3 separate regions of the Homo sapiens genome follow, and regions 1 and 3 are each linked to region 2. The links are contacts of gene promoters, found by promoter capture Hi-C in blood cells and fetal thymus (Javierre and others, 2016). All regions are on one chromosome and are shown on one strand. Each heading gives the region's core, a stretch centred on a gene start or on the middle of the fragment in contact. The rest is flanking DNA. Distances are from core to core; before and after follow the strand shown.

Region 1 (3,890 bases), core at 693-3,192, 280 kb before region 2:
GTTGTTCCTTCTGTCTGGAATATTTTCTCCCAGATATCCACAAAGCTTACTTTCTCATCTCCTTCAAGTCTTTGCTCAAATATAGTCTTTTTTTTTTTTAGATGGAGTCTCACTCTGTCACCTAGGCTGGAGTATAGTGGTGTGATCTCGGCTCACTGCAACCTCCGCCTCCTGGGTTGAAGAAATTCTCTGCCTCAGCCTCCCAAGTAGCTGGGATTACAGGCACCCACCACCTTACCCGGCTAATTTTTTGTATTTTTAGTAGAGAGGGGGTTTCGCCATCTTGGCCAAGCTGGTCTTGAACTCCTGACCTCATGATCCACCGGCATCGGCCTCTCAAAGTGCTGGGATTACAGGTGTGAGCCACCGCACCTGGCCACCCAAATATAGTCTTCTTAGTGAAACATCCCCTAATCACCCTGCTTCAAATTGCACACCCACCCCAGCTCTCCCCAACCCCTTTCATTCTTAATTTTCCTTCATGGCACTATTTGCTTTTTTGTAAACTCTATGACAGCAGGGATTTTTGAATGCTTAGTTTCAAAACATCGATGTATCCCCATCACTAATGTATCCCCCAATACCTGAACAGTGCCTGGCACACTGTAGATCTCTATACTAATTTGTTGAATTAATTAATTTTCATCAGGGGAATGAAACAATCTGATATACAATTTCAAAAGAGAGGAGTGGGCTATGGGAAATCGACTTGGGGGCAATGGTGAAATCAGGGAAAACCAGTTAGGATAACTTGTAGCAATCTAAGATAGAGATGGTAGTAACTTAGGCTAAGACAGTAGCTACAGAGGTGATCAGAGGTAAGACTTAGGTTGGGTTTTAGAGGAGAAATAGACATGACTTGATAATTAATAAAATGTAGAGGTAAAGGGAGATGAAGTGTCAAAGATGACTCCAAGAGCTGGGCACAGTGGTGTATGCCTGTAGTCCTAGCTACACAGGAGGCTGAGGCAGGTGGATCCCTTGTGCCCAGGAGTTTGAGACCAGCCTGGGAAAGACAGCAAGACCCTATCTTTAAAAAAAAAAAAAAAATTGTTTAAAGAAAAAGAATTTAAAAATTTTAAAAAATTGTTTTAATGACTCCAAGTGTCCGGTATGCTGAGGTGCCCATCCCTAGATAGGAAAGACTGGAGCAGTGTCAAAATCAGAATGAAAGATCAAAAGCTCCATTTTGGACATAGTTAAGTTAGAGATGTCTGAGCTCAGAAGCTCATCAACATATTAAAAGTATCTGAGGCTGGGAGTGGCTATGATCATCTGGCCCTAAGGAGACGTAAAGATGCCAGGTTCTGTATTAAGTTGATCAAAAGATCCTCAAATATGCAGCAAATATTCCTTGTCACTTTATGGACAACTGGATTCCTCTTAAGTTTTTTCTCTTGGTCAAAAGTGAATTGCAGCTGGGTGTGGTAGCTCACATCTGTAATCCCAGCACCTTAGGAGGCCAAGGCAGGCAGATCATTTGAACTCAGAAGTTCAAGACCAGCCTGGGCAATGTGGTGAAGCCCTGTTTCTATAAAAAAAAACACAAAAATTATCTGGGCATGGTGGCGCATGCCTGTAATCCCAGCTACATGGGAGGCTGAGGAGGGAGGATGGCTTGAGCCTGGGTGGTAGAGGTTGCAGTGAGCCAAGATGGTGCCACTGCACTCCAGCCTGGGCAACAGAGAGCCAGACCCTGTCTCAAAAAACAATAATAATAATTTAAAATTAAAAAAAAAAGTCAATCCCTGGCCAGGCATGGTGGCTCAAGCCTGTAAACCCAGCACCTTGGGAGGCCAAGGCAGGTGGATCACCTGAGGTTGGGAGTTCGAGACCAGCCTGACCAACATGGAGAAACCCCGTCTCTACTAAAAATACAAAATTAGCCAGGCACAGTGGTGCATGCCTGTAATCCCCAGCTACTCGGGAGGCTGAGGCAGGAGAATCGCTTGAACCCAGGAGGCAGAGGTTGCGGTGAGCCGAGATCCTGCCACTGTACTCCAGCCTGGGCAATTAGAGCATAACTCCATCTCAAAAAAAAAAAAAAAAGTTAATTCCCACATTCCAGTATGGCCGTTAGACCTTTCAAACAGGGCTTCTGCCCAGCCCCACCTCTGAGCGGATCCCTGCTCTGGAGTGACTTCTGCAACATTTTCTAAGTCTCTGATGCTTGGAACCAGCTGGGGCCAGCAGGGCTTCCCAGTGAGACACCTCAAGTCCGAATGAAGATCCATGTGAGCCACAATTTCTATTTCTTTTCTTCAGAAGAAGAAAGCACAGTCAGCCGAACGCTGTGGCTCATGCCTGTAATCCTAGCACTTTGGGAGGCCAAGGTGGGCGAATTGCCTGAGCTTAGGCATTCAAGAACAGCCTGGGCAACATGGCAAAACCCCATCTCTACTAAAAATACAAAAATTAGTAGGACATGGTAGCCCATGCCCATAGTCCCAGCTACTTGGGAGGCTGAGACAAGGGAATCACTTGAACCTGGGAACCTGAGGTTGCAGTGAGCCGAGATCATGCCACCACACTCCAGCCTGGGTGAGAAAGTGAGACCCTGTCTCAATTAAAAAAAAAAAAAAAAGAAGAAGAAGAAGAAGTAGAAGAAGAAAGCACAGGATTTTTCTCTTGGAGCATAGAAGGTCTTTCTAGGTATGACATAACACATAACCCATAAAAGGAAAGGTCAAGATTTTGACAATATAAAATAAAAATTCCACATTACAAAACCCACCATAAGCAAAATGCAAAAGACAGAAAATCAAACTGGAAAAAAATTAACACTCTCATTAGTGACAAATTTATCTTGTTGAAAGAAAAACTTCAGCCAAATTAAATTTAAAAGAGTTTAATTGAGCAATGAACGATTCATGAATCAGGCAGCCCCTAGAATCACAGCAGATTCAGAGAGACTCCAGCGGTTCCTCATGGTCAGAACAGATTTATAAATAAAAAAAGTAAAGTAATATACAAAAACCAGAAGTCGGCTCACGTAGTGAGCTCACTGCCTGTAATCCCAGCACTTTGGGAGGCCAAGGCGGTCGGATCACGAGGTCAGGAGATCGAGACCATCCCGACTAACACGGTGAAACCCCGTCTCTACTAAAAATACAAAAAATTAGCCGGGCATGGTGGCGGGCACCTTTAGTCCCAGCTACTCGGGAGGCTGAGGCAGGAGAATGGCATGAACCTGGGTGGTAGAGTTTGCAGTGAGCCAAGATCGCGCCACTGCACTCCAGCCTGGGGAACAGACTGAGACTCTGTCTCAAAAAAAAAAAAAAAAAAAAAGTGAGGTACAGAAACAGCTGGATGGGTTACAGGTTGGCCTTTGCCTTATTTGAACACAGTTTGAACACTCAGCAGTCTGTGAGTGGTTGAAGTATGGCTGCTGGGATTGGCCAAGACACAGCTATCATTACAGGTGTATAGTCTTAAATTAGGTTTTCAATCTTGTCTGCCTATTAAGCTATGTTACGATTTGTCTACAAGGACTCAAATATAGAAGTATGGAGTCCTTCTCAGGCCATATTTAGTTTGCTTTAACAATCTAAAAGCTAAGACTGAGGTGTCGGAGAAGCCAAGAGAAGAAAGTGTCAAAGATAATGAGAACAATCAAATGCATCCCATTCTGCTGAGAGGTCGAGAAGACAGAGACTGAAAAGGGCCCCTTAGATATGTTTATGTGGAGGTCACGAGGTGCCTTAGCCATTTTAATAGATTCGTGGTGGTCAAAATGCAAGGAAATGGGAATAGCATGTGCAGGACGTTCTTTTGAGATATGTTCTGTTAAACAGAGCAGAGAAACACCGATAGTGAAGGATACTGGGTTAGGTCTAGAAAGAAGCTTGCATTTGTTTTGTGTTGATTTACCTCATTTTGACTTTTAAAGA
Region 2 (3,518 bases), core at 902-3,401:
AGAAGCGTCCCCTGGTGTGGTTGAGAAATCATTCTAGTTAGGGGCAATAATTTGAGGGATGAGTATAGAAGACAAGGAAACACAGTGGCCAAGGAGTGGTTGAAGGGATGATCCTTAGCATATGAGCTGGAAAGAAAGCACAAAGTCAGAAAGGAACAGAGTAGGAGAAAACAAAGAGGTCAAGGGCAAGAGGTCATTATGAGGTCAAAGAGTGTAATGGGAGCGAGAACATCTGAAAGCTGGAAGGATATAGGAGGTTGTGGGTAGAGAGAGGAATGCAAGAGTTTAGAATTTTAAAGGTGGAATAGTTCTACAGAGTGGTCCTGGGAGGGAGGAAGGTAACAGGAGCTAAGGAGGTCAAGAATCTGTGAAGCTGTGGTGTTGAAGGACACTGAGAAACCATGGCAGGATACACTATCCAGATCTCGAAGTTTTCAGGGAACAAGAGGGTATACCTGGGAGATCTACGTATGAGAAGGGGTGAAGGTGTGAGCTTGATAAGTTAAGCAGAGTTTATTCAGAAGTTGGGACAGGTCTTCCTGTGGTGTGCATGCCATCCATGACTGTCTCCTGGGGGTTGTACAAGTGGCTGTGTGGTAAGGGCAACTGTGGCACAGCCTCCTGTTAGTGACAGGCTTCTAGGACACCCACTATGTATGGGCAGCTCCAAGGAAGTAAACCTAATAAGATGTGCTGTGACAGTTGTGACAGTGCTTCTGATGGATGTGGATTGCAGTGACAATGTCTCCTGAGAGGTGCTGGTCTACTTGTTTGTTGCTGGTGACAGTGTTTCTGGAGAGTGTTAGCAGTAACAATGTCTTCCATGGTATGTGTTGGCCTTGACAATGAACCGGTGGGAGTATGTTGGTTGCAGCATTTCTCCTGTGGGTGTGTGTTGTCATGAGAGCATTTTCCGTAGGTGTGTGTTGGCTTGATAGAGTCTGCTGTAGGTGTGTGTTGGTTCTGACTGGGGGTGCTTCCTGGGGGTGGGCTTCCTGGAAGTGTATGATGGCTGTGAGGGTATCTCTTGAGGATGTGTGTTCCCTGGGACTGTGTCCTCTTGTGGGTTGAGTAGGGCTATGACTGTGTCCCTATGGGTATTTGAGAAGTTGACATAAGCGACAATATTTTTCTGGCCTATGACCTTGTGGCTGTGGGCCCAGCCCGCCACACTGAGTTCATTGTGCTTCTAGACCTCCCTCTCCCCACCCCCTCCACGTGGGACCCACGCCTGCGGTGACCTTGCTCTGTCCCCTGCACGGGATTCTGAGCTGGGTATCCCAGACACAAACTCCCAGTTGCTCCAATCTCCCACTCAGAACACGTCTGGGTGACCCCCCCCTCCATCCACTTCAGGCTGTGCCTGCCTCTCCTCTGCTTCTCTGTACTTCTCCCCACTCAGTTTCTTTGTCTCTGTCTCAGTTGGTCTCTGTCACACACCCATCCTCCACATTCTGACACATGGGCTCCCACAGAGCGGGCAACACACCCTCACAGGGACTCGCTCACCATGACACACGGTCATTCTGACCCTCACACCCTCAGAGTGACACGCACATGCACACACAGCCAGAGAGACGCCCAGGGACACACAACCTCCCAGTGACACGCACTGACACACTCCGACGATGCACTGGAACACAACGCTGTCGCACCCCACACCCCCGGCGCACGCTCCCGCCGCCACCCTCCCCGACTCGATGACACACGCACACAAAGACCCCCAGGCCCTGCCCCCACGCTCACGTTCACGCCCGCCCGGGTCCCGCAGGCCCAGGCCCCCCCTCCCCCATTGTCTCCGGCTCAGAACAAAGCCCCCGGCTCCGCCGCCGCTGCCGCAGCCCAGGGGAGGCCGGCGGGCAGGGCGGGCGCGGCCAGACGGGCCGGGCGGGCGCGGGCACTGACCTCCGCGCGACGCGGGCTCCCTCGCCCGGTGCTGGGGCGCCGTCCGGCCGCGGTCAGCCCCCCGGGCAGCGCCCGCTCGCGCGGGGCCTGAGGCCGCGCATCGTCCGCAGTCGCTGTCTCCGAGGCCCGCGATCCCCTCCGGGCAGCCGCCGTCGGTCCGCGCGCCCTTGGCCGTCGATCGGTCCGTCCGCTGACGCCCGGGCGCCGCCTCCTGCACAGCCGCCCCGCCGAGGATGCGAGCTCCGCTGCCGCGGCCCCGCGCCCCCTCCCCTCCCCTCCCCCCGCCCTCCGCGCGGTAACCCGAGCCCCCGCCCCTCCGCCCGCGGAGCCCCCGCCCCCGCCCCCACCCGCGCTCCGCGCCGCCGCCCCCCCTTCCCCCCGGCGCCCGCCCGGCCTCCCTCCGCCCCTCCACTTCCCGGCCCCAGGCCCCGGCTCCGGATCCGGCCCCAGCGCCGCGCCGCGCCCCCGTCCCGGTTCCCTTCCCTTCTCCCCGTCACTTCTCCCGTCCTCTCCTCCCATTCGGTTCTCTACGCCCTCTCGTCTCTTCCCCTTCTCGCCGCTCCCTGCTGCTCACCTCCTCCTCTTCCATCTTCTTTCCATCCCCTATTCCCCTCTTCTCCCTCAGTGCCCTGGTCTCCCTCTCGCCCCTTCTTTTTCCCAACCGTCATCTCCATTCCCCTCTGCCTTTCTCCCATCCTCTTCTTCTCGCCCCATCTCCATCATTTTCTCCCCAGCTCTTCTCCCCTTTCTCTTCTCCTTACCCCTTCTGCTTGATCTCTCTCCAGCCTCTTTACATCAGATTCTCCTTCCCCACCTCTCCTTTTATCCTTTTCTTCCTATCCCTTTCTCCCCGTCTCTTCTCCCCACCTTTCTCCCCATCCCCTTCTCCCTGTGTCTTTCGCCTCACCTCATCATCCCCTTTTCCTCACGCCTTCTCCTCATTCCCTTTTCTCACCCCTGCCCTTTTCACTACCCGCTGTCTCTTCCCCTTCTTCCATCGTAACCTCGGCCTTCTCCCCTGTTAGTCACTTTTCATTATCCCATGATTTCTGTCTCTTTTCTCTCCTTCACCCCCAGGCTCCCTTTCCCCCACTTTCTCTTTATCCCAAATTTGAGGGTAGAGATCGGGAGATATTGGAAAGAAGAGCTTTGGGGATGGTGGTCCCACTCACGATATACTCCCTAGAAAAATTAAGTGAGGAGGAAACCGGGCAGGGAAGTGGGAAGGGGCTCAAAAAACCAACTTGGGAGAGAATATGGGGAGAGGGGAAATCAGACAGAGACAAAGAGCAAGCAATCTTAAAGGAACTGGGAAGAGTTCTGACTCCTGTCCTTCTTCCTTAGGACTGCGAGTAGACTGTGAGAAAAACAGGTTTTCTGGACTTGAGATGTGTACAAATGGCACAAAGAAATCAGGAACTTCTGTGGAGAAGGAACACAGTTTCAGCTGAAGAAGAAGGGAGTGTGATTTTGGAAGAGGAGTGAGGGAGAGACTGGGGTCCTTGATCATATCCACGGCGCTTGGGCAGCTGGGTGGATGGATGGTGGTGAGGCTGGCTGTGCTCCACAAAAGGAGCAGCAGGAGGCTGCAGGGGGTTCGTATGAGGAGATGA
Region 3 (3,564 bases), core at 380-2,879, 440 kb before region 2:
CAGGGAGCTCAGGGCCACGCTTTGTCATTTGCCTTCAAAGAAATTGCACTCTATCTGCTTAAGACAGTCTTAGTGCTAGCAGACAGTCACAGCAACCAAGAAGGTACAAGGAAAGCGAACAGGAAAAACTTGAAATCAAGTCCTTCTTTGAAGAGGTGGGGAGGAAGGAGCTGAGTAGGGAGAAAAATACCAGAAGGTTAACCTTAGGCCCCAGGAGAGCTGACAGAAAACCCAAGACCCAGACAGATAAACTGGACGGAATGGCATAGAGAGTGTTTAGGTGCCTCTCCATACAGGACAGCACATACGTCTTCAATATGGTTCAGAAATATTGCTGTGATTCACCAGGAAACATCAAACACAGAATATCCTAATTACAAATCGCAGGAAATGGCCAGACTAGGGAAAGAGGAGGAACATGCACATAGGACATACATACAAGGCTCAGATGTAAGTCAATACTCAAACCAGCACAAGCATGGAAGACGTACAGACAGACACAGGGACACAAGTATGACATGACACGTATCTGGAAGTGATGCAAGCAGGATGGATGAGGGGCTAGGCAAGTACACAGAAATGACATGGCCAAGAGGTCCAAGAAACCAGCACAAACATGTCGAGAACATGCAAAGAGTACACAGAAGGGAAGGCCTAGGCTAAGTAGCTTACCAGTGAAGGGCTGGCTTGGCAGCTGGTTGAGAGTCCGCAAAGGGCTGCTGAGGAAGGGGCCAGGGGGCTCAGGGGGACAGGTGAAGCTCTCGTAGGCCTCCTCCTCCTCAAGGGGCAGTGGAGGTTCTAAGGGGGACTCTGAGCCAGTTCCCCCATTGCTCAATGCCACCTCTAGCTCCCGGAGCTCCTGCCCAAAGCCCTCTAGTCCTGCCATGCCCTCGGAGATGCCCTCTAGCAGTTCCCCAGCTCCCTCCTTTGGCACCAGACGAACCTTCTTGGCCCCCTCAGGCCATGATCCTGGCACTCCATTGAGCTGGGGAGGGGGCAGGTGACCAGGGCCCTCCCCTGCACCCCCAGCCCGCCCCCTCCTCCCCAGCTCTTCCTCCTCCCCTTCCCCCACGTTGTTCCTGTCCTCCTCAGGCAGTAGGCTGCGTTTCTTAGTCCGGGAGCCAAAAGGACTGGGCTCAGGAGAGGGCCGCTCGCCATCATAGGGGGCAGACCAGGTACGGCAGGCTCGGACACAGCGGTCCACACCACGACGTGCCTCACGCAGATACTCCAGGTAATTGTCTTCCAGCTCTCCAGGCTCCTCTGCAGGGGTAGGCCGTCGGCCAGGGCTGGAGGCGGGGGATGCAGAAAGCCCTGGTGAGCAAGGGGCTGGGCCTGGAGACTCAGAGCCACCCAGGCTCTGCTGCCGCAGGAAGAGAGCCAGACGAGATGGTGTGGAGGGCCGGGGTACTGTCGTCACAGAAGAGGAGTCCACACTTGGGCTTCCAGGACCTGCAAAGGGAAAAAATATAAGAGAAATCAAGGAGACAGAGGTTCAGAAGGAGAGATAAGACACCTCGGGAGACTAAGAAAGAAGACAATGGGGAGGCAGAAACATGGAATCTATTCAGACAGCTAACTCTCCAACCTCCTAATTAACCTTATCCTCATCCACCACCCCCACTCACCACCATCACCACTGAAGACACAATGGAAACAGGAAGAGTACACGACTAGAGAGAAGAACAAGAATAGCTTTGCCCAGAAGTCCCACTCTAATTTTCTTTGGTGAGTGTTAAGGGTCCTCCCTGCAAGACACCCTCATCAACCTCCCCAAAGACAGACTATCATTCATGGACACCTTCCTCCCCTTCACCCCAGCCCCTCCTTGCTACGCTCCCCCAGAACCTAGGCCATACCCGTGATGTCCTCCCTTCTCCCTGTCTCTCTGCTAGGCCCACCTCGTGCCCATGAGGCATGCTCTGGACGAGGTGGGCTGGGGGCGTGGTGCCGACAACAGCGTGGGATTAGGGAGAGAAACTTGTCAGCTGCTCGTCCATATAGGTCCACATCACGAACAGCCGGCTTCTGGCTCAGCATAACGTGGTTACATGGAACAAGATACCTGAGAAAGACATCAGAAAGGGGACACAGGGTAGATCAGGAAGGAAGGACAGGGCCTAGAGGAACATCAGGCCAATGAAACTGCATGGTTAAGCCAGGCTCCAAGTGGAAACTCATGAGTAACCCCTATATAGCCCATTGCCCCAGCAATGCATAAGACTCTGAGGCTTCAGGGTCAGCCATCCCTCAGCCCTGCCCCAACAGATACCTGAGAACCAGCTGCAGCAGGACATCCTCACAGCTGAGGTTCAGGAGGGTCCTGAAGAGACTCAGAGAGACCATGCAGAGCTGGGGGGGTGGAGGGGAGGGAGGGAGTCACCATAAGAGCTCTCTGCCCTCCAAGCCATTCACCAAACGGGAACCCCACCAGCCCCAAGTTGGCCCAACCAACCACTCCTAGAGGAACTCCTAGAGGACCATGTACCATGCCTGGCACATAAGTCATTCAAGTATTAGCTAGATGATCACACGATCTTTGCGAGCAAGACTTTGCTATTCATACAAATGAAGCATCTCAGACCCAATGGACTTCTATAGACTCTCTAGCTATATATACCTGGTCAGCAGAGACTCCAGCAACACTTGAACGAAAATCCATGAGAAGAGACTAAGAAATACTGTGATTGAGTGAATGACTAACAGGAGACAACAGAAACATGGTAATTAAGTGAATGCCTGCCAGAAGGGACTGTAGCAATACAGTAACTGAATGCCTACCAATAAGAAACTAGAGGGAACCGGGAAGATTCCCAACTGGGAAGTAGGTGGGGCTGCAAACATGAAGTCTGAGTCACCTCTCTAACACTAGTGTATCTCTCAGAAGGCAGGATAAAGAACAACTCAAGCGCAGCTGACAGGAAAAGGAAAAAGTAGGTGGGTCAAGATTAGAGGAAATCTTTTATTTTAGAAAAGGAAGAAGGTTGGTTCATCTCTGACTAGGTAAAGAAAACACATATGTAACCTTTCCCTCACTTCTCTGAATCTTCCTAGCACTTTCTCTATACTTCCCTTACAGCAAGTGTGTCAGACACCTTGAGCTCCCTGAAGACAACGAATGGGTCTTGGTCTAGGGCACTACCTGAACAGTTTAGGCATTCATTATTTGCTACATGACCACGGGAGAATTAAAAGTCAACCACACAGCAAGAAAAACACGTGACAGCAGTTCACATTTTGAATAGCATGGATGTTCAGGAGGCTATCCTAAATGACCACTTTAGCTAGCAATGAAAAAATTCAGACTCACTGAAAAGTAGTAAGTGGGTAGAAAAGTGGTCCCTCAAAGATGCTCACATCCTAATCTCCAGACCCTAAAAATATTTCACCTCACGTGGCAGAGACGACTTCGCAGATGTGAGTATCCTAGATGAGATTATCCTAGATATCCACAGATAATAGAGATCCATAGATATCTATTATCTATGGATGAAGGGGGGCCATGAGCCAAGGAATCTGGTTGCTCTACAGGCTGAGAATGTTCTTCAGTTGTCAACCAGCAAG

The links. Contacts are between HindIII fragments. The CHiCAGO score rates a contact against its expected background, and 5 or more counts as called.
Region 1: a fragment that was not itself captured here is called in contact with the fragment with the promoter of DCHS1 in region 2 in 9 of 17 cell types (non-activated CD4 T cells, total CD8 T cells, total CD4 T cells and 6 more); the score reaches 8.6 in non-activated CD4 T cells.
Region 3: a fragment that was not itself captured here is called in contact with the fragment with the promoter of DCHS1 in region 2 in 1 of 17 cell types (fetal thymus); the score reaches 6.6 in fetal thymus.

Annotation. Positions count from the first base shown.
Region 1 is chr11:6,372,283-6,376,172 of GRCh38, forward strand. No RefSeq gene overlaps it. Among named protein-coding and RNA genes, the nearest start is that of SMPD1, 16 kb to the right of the region's middle. The HindIII fragment of the contact is 3,799 bases long and covers 44-3,842 here.
Region 2 is chr11:6,653,658-6,657,175 of GRCh38, forward strand. It overlaps DCHS1 (dachsous cadherin-related 1), which reads right to left and starts at 2,152. Exons shown (of 21, transcript NM_003737.4): 1 at 1,906-2,152. The HindIII fragment of the contact is 4,247 bases long and covers 1-3,518 here.
Region 3 is chr11:6,216,699-6,220,262 of GRCh38, forward strand. FHIP1B (FHF complex subunit HOOK interacting protein 1B) reads right to left here. Exons shown (of 12, transcript NM_001098794.2): 7 at 2,273-2,352; 8 at 1,902-2,065; 9 at 673-1,452. Among named protein-coding and RNA genes, the nearest start is that of C11orf42, 13 kb to the left of the region's middle. The HindIII fragment of the contact is 4,493 bases long and covers 1-3,564 here.